2 separate regions of the Homo sapiens genome follow, and region 1 is linked to region 2. The links are contacts of gene promoters, found by promoter capture Hi-C in blood cells and fetal thymus (Javierre and others, 2016). All regions are on one chromosome and are shown on one strand. Each heading gives the region's core, a stretch centred on a gene start or on the middle of the fragment in contact. The rest is flanking DNA. Distances are from core to core; before and after follow the strand shown. Region 1 overlaps DOCK10 (dedicator of cytokinesis 10). Region 2 holds the start of CCL20 (C-C motif chemokine ligand 20).

Evidence for each region. Contacts are between HindIII fragments. The CHiCAGO score rates a contact against its expected background, and 5 or more counts as called.
Region 1: a fragment that was not itself captured here is called in contact with the fragment with the promoter of CCL20 in region 2 in 1 of 17 cell types (M0 macrophages); the score reaches 5.5 in M0 macrophages.

Annotation. Positions count from the first base shown.
Region 1 is chr2:225,000,803-225,005,576 of GRCh38, forward strand. The region is part of intron 1 of DOCK10 (dedicator of cytokinesis 10); the gene reads right to left. Among named protein-coding and RNA genes, the nearest start is that of MIR4439, 7.4 kb to the right of the region's middle. The HindIII fragment of the contact is 6,368 bases long and covers 1-4,774 here.
Region 2 is chr2:227,812,228-227,817,029 of GRCh38, forward strand. It overlaps CCL20 (C-C motif chemokine ligand 20), which reads left to right and starts at 1,615. Exons shown (of 4, transcript NM_004591.3): 1 at 1,615-1,760; 2 at 3,227-3,341; 3 at 4,080-4,157. The coding sequence starts at 1,685. The HindIII fragment of the contact is 16,817 bases long and covers 1-4,802 here.

The sequences.
Region 1 (4,774 bases), core at 1,048-3,547, 2.8 Mb before region 2:
TCGTCTGTACTAAAAATACAAAAATTAGCTGAGCATGGTGGCTTACGCCTGTAATCCCAGCTACTCGGGAGGCTGAGGCAGGAGGATCGCTTGAACTGAGGACGCAGAGGTTGCAGTGAGCCGAGATCGTGCCACTGCACTGTAGCCTAGGCAAGAGTGAGACTCCATCTCAAAAAGAAAAAAAATTAATCACTAGAAGCTATTGTGTTAATCTGGCTAATGATGTGTTAATTGGAGTTAAACTATGAAGTGGCTTAGTGCTGTTTTGTGTCAACAGTGGGATGCCAAACATTATTATGGGCAGTGATATTTTATCAGTACTTTAAAGTGACTGGTTAGCTACTAATAGTAGAAATAGTAGCAGTAGTCTGGCCACATTCAGGGTATATGCATTTATCAGTAAGTACATAGATGAACTAGCAGGTAGGTGCTCGGGACTTTGGTAAGTCATGAATGAAAAGAGCTACACAACAATATACAACAGACCTTTTTTTTTTTTTTTTTTGAGACGGAGTCTCGCTCTGCCACCCAGGCTGGAGTGCAGTGGCTTGATCTCAGCTCACTGCAAGCTCCGCCTCCCGGGTTTACGCCATTCTCCTGCCTCAGCCTCCCAAGTAGCTGGGACTACAGGTGCCCGCCACCATGCCTGGCTAATTTTTGTGTATTTAGTAGAGATGGGGTTTTACCATGTTAGCCAGGATGGTCTTGATCTCCTGACCTTGTGATCCACCCGCCTCAGCCTCCCAAAGTGCTGGGATTACAGGTATGAGCCACTGTGCCTGGCCAGTATACAACAGACTTTCTATAATAGAGTTTTATTTGCAATACTGTGGAAGGGCAGTGTCTTAGTCCATGCAGGCTGCTATAATAAATACCATAACCTGGGTGGTTTATAAACAACAAAAATTAATTTCACACAGTTCTGGAGGCAGGAAGTCCATGATCGAGGCGTCGGCAGGTGTGGTGTCTGTGAGGGCCTGCCTCCTGGTTCACAGATGGCATCTCCTTGGTTTGTCCTCACATGGTAGGAGGAGCAAATGAGCTCCCTTGAGCCTGTTTCGTAAGGGCACTAATCCCACTCCTGAGGGCTCTGCCCTCATGACCTAACCATCTTCCATAAGGCCCCACCTCCTAATACCACCGTCTAAGGAGTTAGGATTTCAACATGTGAATCTGGGGGGAGATGGTAAGGCGACACACATAAGCAACCCATAGCCAAGAGAGAGGGAGCGTAATTCAGTCAGGGGGATTCCATATGGCTTCTCAGAGTCTAAGCTATTTGACCTGGGCCGTGAAGGATGAATAAATGACACTTGGGAGGAAAAGTGAGTTAGAGTATTTCAAATGTGAAAGGCTATGTGGCTCACGAAGGCATCTGACTTTTGAAGGCCGATACCACTTGTTTACCTGATGCTAAACTCTCCCTATATTAGCACTGCCCCCTGCTGTCCATTGTGAGAAGAGGTCTGAAAGGACAAATGCATCCTTTTTGCCATTTTGCCCTTTAAAAATGAACAGACTGTCATCCTCAATATCACTTATTTGTAGTATCATTTCTTCAAGTTTCCATTACCAAGTGGCATGCTGAATAAAAGCAGGCACAGACCAAGAACAGCAATGACAACACGGCTTTCTCAGTGAGTTTACATAGATGTAAGCCTGATTCCACCTCTTAGGGTCCTTTATTGATAGATAAGTCATACATTTCTTTGGCCTCAGTAGTTGAGATTTAGTCAGCTCTTCAGCTCTCTTTAACTGTTAACTGATGAGAATATTTGGAGACAGAAAATGTCTCAGTGACTCCTCATCATAGTGAGACAATGGCCACGCCATGCCACGAGGAGCTAGTTGCATGGGCAGGCAGGTGTAAACATCCACATATGCAGAAAGAAAAAAGCCAGCAGCTGGCATCTCGTCACCCACAGCTTCCAGAAACAGTCTGGAATGTTGTTGGATGCTCAACACTGCAGAATTGGTATGAACCACATCAGTGTGGTCTGTCTTGCATGATCGGGCAGGTGTAAACATCCACATATGCAGAAAGAAAAAAGCCAGCAGGTGGCATCTCGTCACCCACAGAATGTTGTTGGTCGCTCAACACTGCAGAACTGGTATGAACCACATCAGTGTGGTCTGTCTTGGGGCAGACAGCAAGAACCGAGAAATGACCAGGGTAAATTCTGAGAGTGACAAATTCCATCTCTATTTGAGAATGGGAAGGAATTTGAAGGTTACATTTTTATTTTTATTTTATTCTATTTTAGAGACAGGGTCTCACTTTATCACCAGGCTGGAGTGCAGTGGCATGATCTCAGCTCACTGCAGCTTCGACTTCCTGAGCTCAAGTGATGCTCCCACCTCAGCCTCCCGAGTAGCTGGGACTATGTGTGTACCACCACACCTGGCTAATGTTTGTATTTTTAGTAGAGGCAGGATTTCACCATGTTGCCCAGGCTGGTCTTGAACTCCTGGACTCAAGTATGCATCTGCCTCGGCTTCTCAAAGTGCTGGGATTACAGGTGTAAGCCACCGTGCCTGGCTGGAAGGTTACATTTTTCAGTTTGAGTTTTGGGTAAACATCCCCATGGAGATCCTAAGTTCACTGATGGTGGTGTGGGACCTTTTATGATTCCACTAGAATGCTGATCTTGGGAGTAGAATTCTCCTTAGAACCGTGGCTGATGCAACTCGAATCAGAAGAAAGACCCACAATCTGGAAATCCTGACACTTTCCTGAGTGTGTTGACTTCATGTTTGACTGAATGAACCTTTTGTTCAAAAAAGGCAAATCTAAAACACAGACATACGCTTCACTTCTTTTAGTTTCAAATTAAAAGTTTTATCTAATAGTAGTATTTGTTCAAAATTTTACAAGGTAACATTGTTGATGTTTCATTAGCATCCCTGATCCCTAATGGCCATCCTATCTCTTAAACCACAAGAAATATTGTCTCTTTAAAGTCCATAATGTGCATTTACACTGATAAAATAAGGCCAGTGACTCCCAAGCTGCTTTGGGGAAAGAGGCCATCTTTTCTCTGTGTGACTTGTTCAGTGGCAATTGGAGTTTTACATCTGCTCTACAGGTCCAATCATAATAGAGCTCACTGTTATGTTAAATGTAGTTAGGTCTATCAAAATGTTAATAAACATGATAATGACAAACTAAGGAGATAGTTATCATAAAATGATGATAACATTTCTTGACTGTGTCGTATGTGCTCAGCATTTTCTCGTTTCGTTTTGTCTGTGATGTAAGTATCATGATCATTCCTTGCAGTGGGTTGCAAAGTGGCTCCCCCAAAGATATGCCCATATCCCAATCACTGGAACTCATGAATGTGACCTTATTTGGAAAAAGGCTCTTTGCAGATGAGTTAAGCCTTTCAAGATGAAATCCTCTTGGATTATTTAAGCTGGCCGTAAATCCAATGAAAAGTGTTCTTATGAGATAGCAGAGGAAAAGACACAGAGAGAAAAGGAAGAAAAGGTGGGAAAGACATATGAAGACGAAGGCAGAGACTGGAGTTGTGTGGCCACAGGCCAAGGCATTCTTGGAGCCACCAGAAACTGGAGGAGGCAAGGCAGGATTTGCCCCTAGAACTTTTAGAGGGAGTGTGGCCCTGCTGACTTGATTTTGGACTTCTGGCCTGTAAGAATAAATATCTATTGTTGTCATAAGCCACTTAAGTTATGCTCATTTGTTATGGTGGCCCTAGGAAACTAGTGCATCCTTATTTTGAAGTTGAGAAACTGGAAGCTCAGAGAGGTTAAATAACTTCCCAGAGCCACAGAGCTAGCCTTAAGAAATGGGGGAGCTGTGTTTGAATTGACATCCTTCTGACTCAAGCACCTGTGCTCTAGGCATGAAGCCACATGTCGGCTTAATAATTCAGAGAGCATTTGTTTTCCTAAGACAGAACCAAGGATGTGAAGAGTGTGCTGATGCAATTTCAGAGCAGGCTCTCCCAGCAGCTTCCTGCTTCCAGAATGCATTTTTTGCATTAAAAAAGCCATTAGAGTTTGTCCATCAGCAATTCAGTCCACGTGTGGCTCAGCCTCCCAGCTCAGGGATAAGGTAGTTCTATACTTGGCCCCCAAAGGCCTTGCTTTATTTCTCTAATCATAAGTATGATTGTCTTGACTCATGCTGGGCAATAATACAATGGAGAATGAACATTAAATTAAATCTATAAAGAGCCTAAAATCAATCAACCCCTTCATGAAACTAATTTTAGAAAAGAGGTCATTAGATATATTAGAGGCAATTTGAAAGTTAACTGAGAAATGAGACCTCATGTTCTCTTTGGAAAAAAACCTTTTTGTCATGAGATAGATAGAATTTGTACTTCCATCAGAGTAGTACAGCTGCCACAAAAACCCTACAAATCTCTAGGAGTCAAAATGGTGATTTTATGCTTCAAGTACAGCAGATTACCACTGTTATCCCATATACATGGATAATGGCAAACAACTTTCTATTCTCCATGGGCCATCAAACCACCTCTCAGCAATGTAAGGACATGATTTCAATCATTGGTGAATTCAGAAGAGGAGAAAAGCCATCTTCAAAATATGTACAGTTTTTGTAATTCTAATTGGATTTTATACTAGAGCAGTGTTAACTGAATGTCAGTTATTCATGTCCCACCATCTTGATTTTTGCCAAATCATAGTATTACCTGTTAGTATATACTTAACAAAATCCTTTTAATCAATGACTACCTTTTTTCCATAAAATTTCATTTTAAACTAAAACTGTATTCTTTGACGT
Region 2 (4,802 bases), core at 365-2,864:
TTCCATAACCTACCATATGCTTTATCCTAGAGAACATTCCATGTGCAACTATTCTGTTGATGTTGGATAGAGTAGTCCTTCGATGCCTGCTAAGTCTATTTGGCTTATAGTGTTGTTCAAGTCTTCTATTTTCTTGTGGATCTTCTGCCTAAATTTTATTAATTAGTGAAAATGTGGTACCAAAGCTGTCAACTTTTATTGTTAAATTTCCTATTCTGCTGGGCACGGTGGCTCATGCCTGTAATGAGGTCAGGAGTTCAGCCTGGGCAACATGGTGAAACCACGTCTCTACTAAAAATACAAAAATTCGCTGGGCGTGGTGGCACGTGCCTGTAGTCCCAGCTACTCAGGAGGCTGAGGCAGGCGAATCGCTTGAACCCAGGAGGCGGAGGTTGTAGTGAGCCGAGATGGTGCCACTGCACTCCAGCCTGGGCAACAAGAGCAAAATTCTGTCTCAAAAGAAATTATAATAATAAAATAAAATAAAATTTCCTATTCTTCCCTTCAATTCTGTCAGTTTTTGCTTTCTGTAGTTTGGGGTGCTACTGTTAGGTATATATATGGTTATAGGTTTTACATCTTCCCAATGGGTTAATTTTGTGTTACCATGAAAGTCCCTTTTTATTTCCGGTAACATTAAAAAAAAATCTATTTTGTCTGATATAGGCATCACCAACTCCAGTTCTCTTTTGTTTACTGTTTGGTATACCTTTCTTTTGATCCTTTTACTTTCAACCTATTTGGGTCTAGTGGAGAGTTCTTATACTGCCTTAGGTTAGGGATTCATATTACATTATCATCATTAGTACTGTTATTTGACATTTGCTGTGCTGACTAGCTACTGCTGATAGGTTTTCTTTCCTCAACAATTCTGAGGCTCTATATTGAGTTATATTAGTACATCATCATGGAGAGTTAAAGGTAGGTAAGGATTATTTTCTGAACTGCAATATTGATTAAAGCCATGTGAATGTATAAGATTCTTAGAAGAGTTGACATTAAATCAAGGTGAAGCTGAGGTTTGAGCCTTACTTAAAGGCTGATATTTTCCACTCTAACTGCGGACAGTACTGTAGCACTGTTATAGTACCTGCTCTGAATGTTAGTCTAGCAACTCAGGGTCTTCTTCATGACAGCTGAACCTCAACCATGTGATGGTAAATGTGTAGCAGAGTATGCCTGGCATCCCACCTGCTCCTCCTCCCCCTCCTCCTTGACTGGTTCTGGAAAGCAAATAGGGTGTAACAATAGGAGTTCTGGAATGTTCCTGTGTGGGGCTGACCTTTGTATCGCTGTTAATCCTCTATTTTCAGACACAAAAATGATTAAGTTAAAACTGGATGAAAGTCTTTTCTGGGTCACAGGGCTGAGCTGCTTTTGCTCTTTGCAAATACAAAGAATTTAACAGGATTCTCCCCTTCTCAACTTCCTGTCCCCCACCCTGACCTTCGCACCTTCCCAATATGAGGAAAAAGCAGGAAGTTTTCCTTGCGGGTTTTTTTTATGATGACATGATGGGGCCAGTTGATCAATGGGGAAAACCCCATGTGGCAACACGCCTTCTGTGTACATTCCCAATATTTGCTATAAATAGGGCCATCCCAGGCTGCTGTCAGAATATAACAGCACTCCCAAAGAACTGGGTACTCAACACTGAGCAGATCTGTTCTTTGAGCTAAAAACCATGTGCTGTACCAAGAGTTTGCTCCTGGCTGCTTTGATGTCAGTGCTGCTACTCCACCTCTGCGGCGAATCAGAAGGTAAGTGTCGCTCTTTCCGCTAGCACAGAAGAAAGACTATTTTCATTTTCCTTTTAGCCTTGAGCTCAACTGGGGGTCCCTAAGGGATGGAAAACTGTTAGGAAGTATACAAGAGGTAGTGATGGAAGTTGTCTGCCCATGGTGGAGTGGAGGAGAGAAGAGTTACTGCTGCGGATCAGGCTTTCCTCTCTGCTGTCAATCTCAGCAGATTTGGGGAGTGGTGGGCTCTTAGAGATCCCTAAACTTCAGGATAAAGCCAAAGTGATGTTTCTGGGAGTGATATAAAGTGTGTAATGTTACCAGTAGATGGGGCCATTTTGAAATGTAGAGAATCCTCCTGTGTCCCCAACTTTCGTACCTCCCAACTTAATAGTTTTGGTAAAGTTCAAAACTCATCCTTTAGAAGTAGATTATAATACCTGACATCAACATCCCCACAAGGCATGGGGGACATTGCTTGCCAACTTTAAAATAACATTAATCCCTTACCTTACAGCATGTTGTAATCTGACTCGGGAATGTCCAAGTATTGCTTTATTGCTCAATAGTCACACAACACTTTTAGCAACAGGTGCATTCCTAAAAATGCACATTGAATTTTTTTTTTTTTCTGAGGCAGGGTCTAACTTCATCACCCAGGCCAGAGTGCAGTGGCATGATTACAGCTCACTACAGCCTCAACCTCCTGGAGTCAAGTGAACCTCCAGTCTCAGCCTCTTGAATAACAGGGACCACGGCCGTGTGCCACTCACCTGGCTAATTTTTTTACATTTTTTTTTTTTTTGTAGAGACAGGGTTTCACTGTGTTGCCCAGGCTGGTCTCGAACTCCTGGAGGCAAGCAATCCTTCCTCCTTGGCCTCCCAAAGTGCTGGGATTACAGGCATGAGCCACCATGCCCAACCACATGTTGAACTTTTATGAACAAAATTAAACATTCCTATTAATTAATAGGACAATTTCAAAGTGTTTTCACTCCTATAAATCATATTTCCCTTTGTAGCTCTATTTCTCAATACTTAGTAGCCAGATAATAGATTAAAATCTGCCAATTTATTCATTTTCTGCTTTTGGAAGTTTATCTACATAAGGGTTCCTTCAAGCAGTAGGGAAGGGGCTGCTCATATTCTTGAATGATTATAGTGAACTGAAATGAAATATTGTCAATTTGTATTTCTTACTGAAGATATCCCACTTATGAGAAGTCCTGTGTTTCTCAATTCTATTATTGAACCAAAACTTCTCGGCACACAAACTGTTTTTTCAAAGAACTGTAAACTATGTTAGATTGGTTCTCAACGACCTTACAAAGGTTTCCAAGACATTGAAACTCCTCCTCTAAGTGGTTTATTCGTCATATACATGAGATTCACTAGATTTTTCACAACTTAAGGTAGTTTTATAATACCAATCACAGGATAAGTTTATTCATGTGGATCCAATACCTTTCACTTTTTTTTTTTTTTAGCAGCAAGCAACTTTGACTGCTGTCTTGGATACACAGACCGTATTCTTCATCCTAAATTTATTGTGGGCTTCACACGGCAGCTGGCCAATGAAGGCTGTGACATCAATGCTATCATGTAAGTTATTAATTGATTTTAATTCAGTTGTATCAGGAATACCTAGAAACTTCAGTTTTAAAAATGTTTGCCTTTTTAGAGTTTCATTCAGAAATTACTGATGTTTTGAACATAAGATCTTATTTTAAAGAGAAAGAAATGATGTGGCAAAGATAGCTTTGTCTTAGTACATATCTACTTTAAAGTTCACTTTAAACAGGACTGGAATAAGGCAAAACCTTTTTTAAAAATTTTTTTTGGTCAAACGGAACTAGTATAGGGCAAAAATCACTTTCTAAGGCTATTAAAGTGATATATTAGGAAAATAGGGAAGATACACATTTCGAAATGAGCATCTTCTACCAGAAAGTGTTTGAGACCAAAAGTAAAATCTCAGACTAATTATACTATCACATATAATTTTCTTGATTTATATAGGATATTATATTTTGGAATTATACAAGTTATTGATCAGATACATACATATTCTATGTAACCACCAATAGCAAAATTATATGACAATTCTGGGACTTTATCTTCCTGCCATTGTACTATTATTTGTTACATTGCAGAGAAAGAGAGAATCACTTTGATTTTGCATTAATCTTCATCAGAAGCATTTTTTGTGCATTTTATTTTACCTCATCAACTGAAATGTTTAGTGTGTAATCAACTGGAATATAAAATTTCCATTGTATGTTCTATGAAAAACCCATTGAAAAGCTCATTAAACACAAATCAAATTTTCTGATTTTTCAGCTTTCACACAAAGAAAAAGTTGTCTGTGTGCGCAAATCCAAAACAGACTTGGGTGAAATATATTGTGCGTCTCCTCAGGTATGTTACACTGACATTTAGCCTTTGCAAATGTTTGAGGAAAGAGGAGTGTGCAAAGGGGTGGGCCGTAGGTTTTCTGGGATTCTTTAGTTTAACTATTGTGGAATTTTTAAAGGGAAAATTTGAGTTGGACCACAAAAACAAAGAATGCATTTTTCCACTTACAGATCATCATCGTTATTATTATTTTAATTTAGTGATTTCTTACATGATGTATTAGATTTCTCTATGCATTTGATAGTTACTAGCTGCCTGATTCTTGTTGCAAAGATGCCTACTATTTATATAATTTAAAGGCAATCTGGCATTTGGTTGTTTGTTAAAAACTGAAAAATGAACATTAGTTAAACAGAGATCAATGGTTCTGATTTACGTTGACAATAATAGACAGTAACACTTTATCAATGGACAGAAGGCACCTAACACCAGCATGCCATAGATACTGAACTTGGAGACACAAGATAAGTGTCCATAGCCTGTTTCTGTCATTAATGAGCTGAGTTAGGTTGGGCAAGGGCCATCCTCTCTAAACCTCAATTTCCTCATCTGAACTCTGAGCTGCTTGACATACTGAGTTGAGATTAAGGGCAGGTGAAGCAACCTTTAGGTACCAAAGTCATTCCCACCATGCAGTCACCTTGTCAT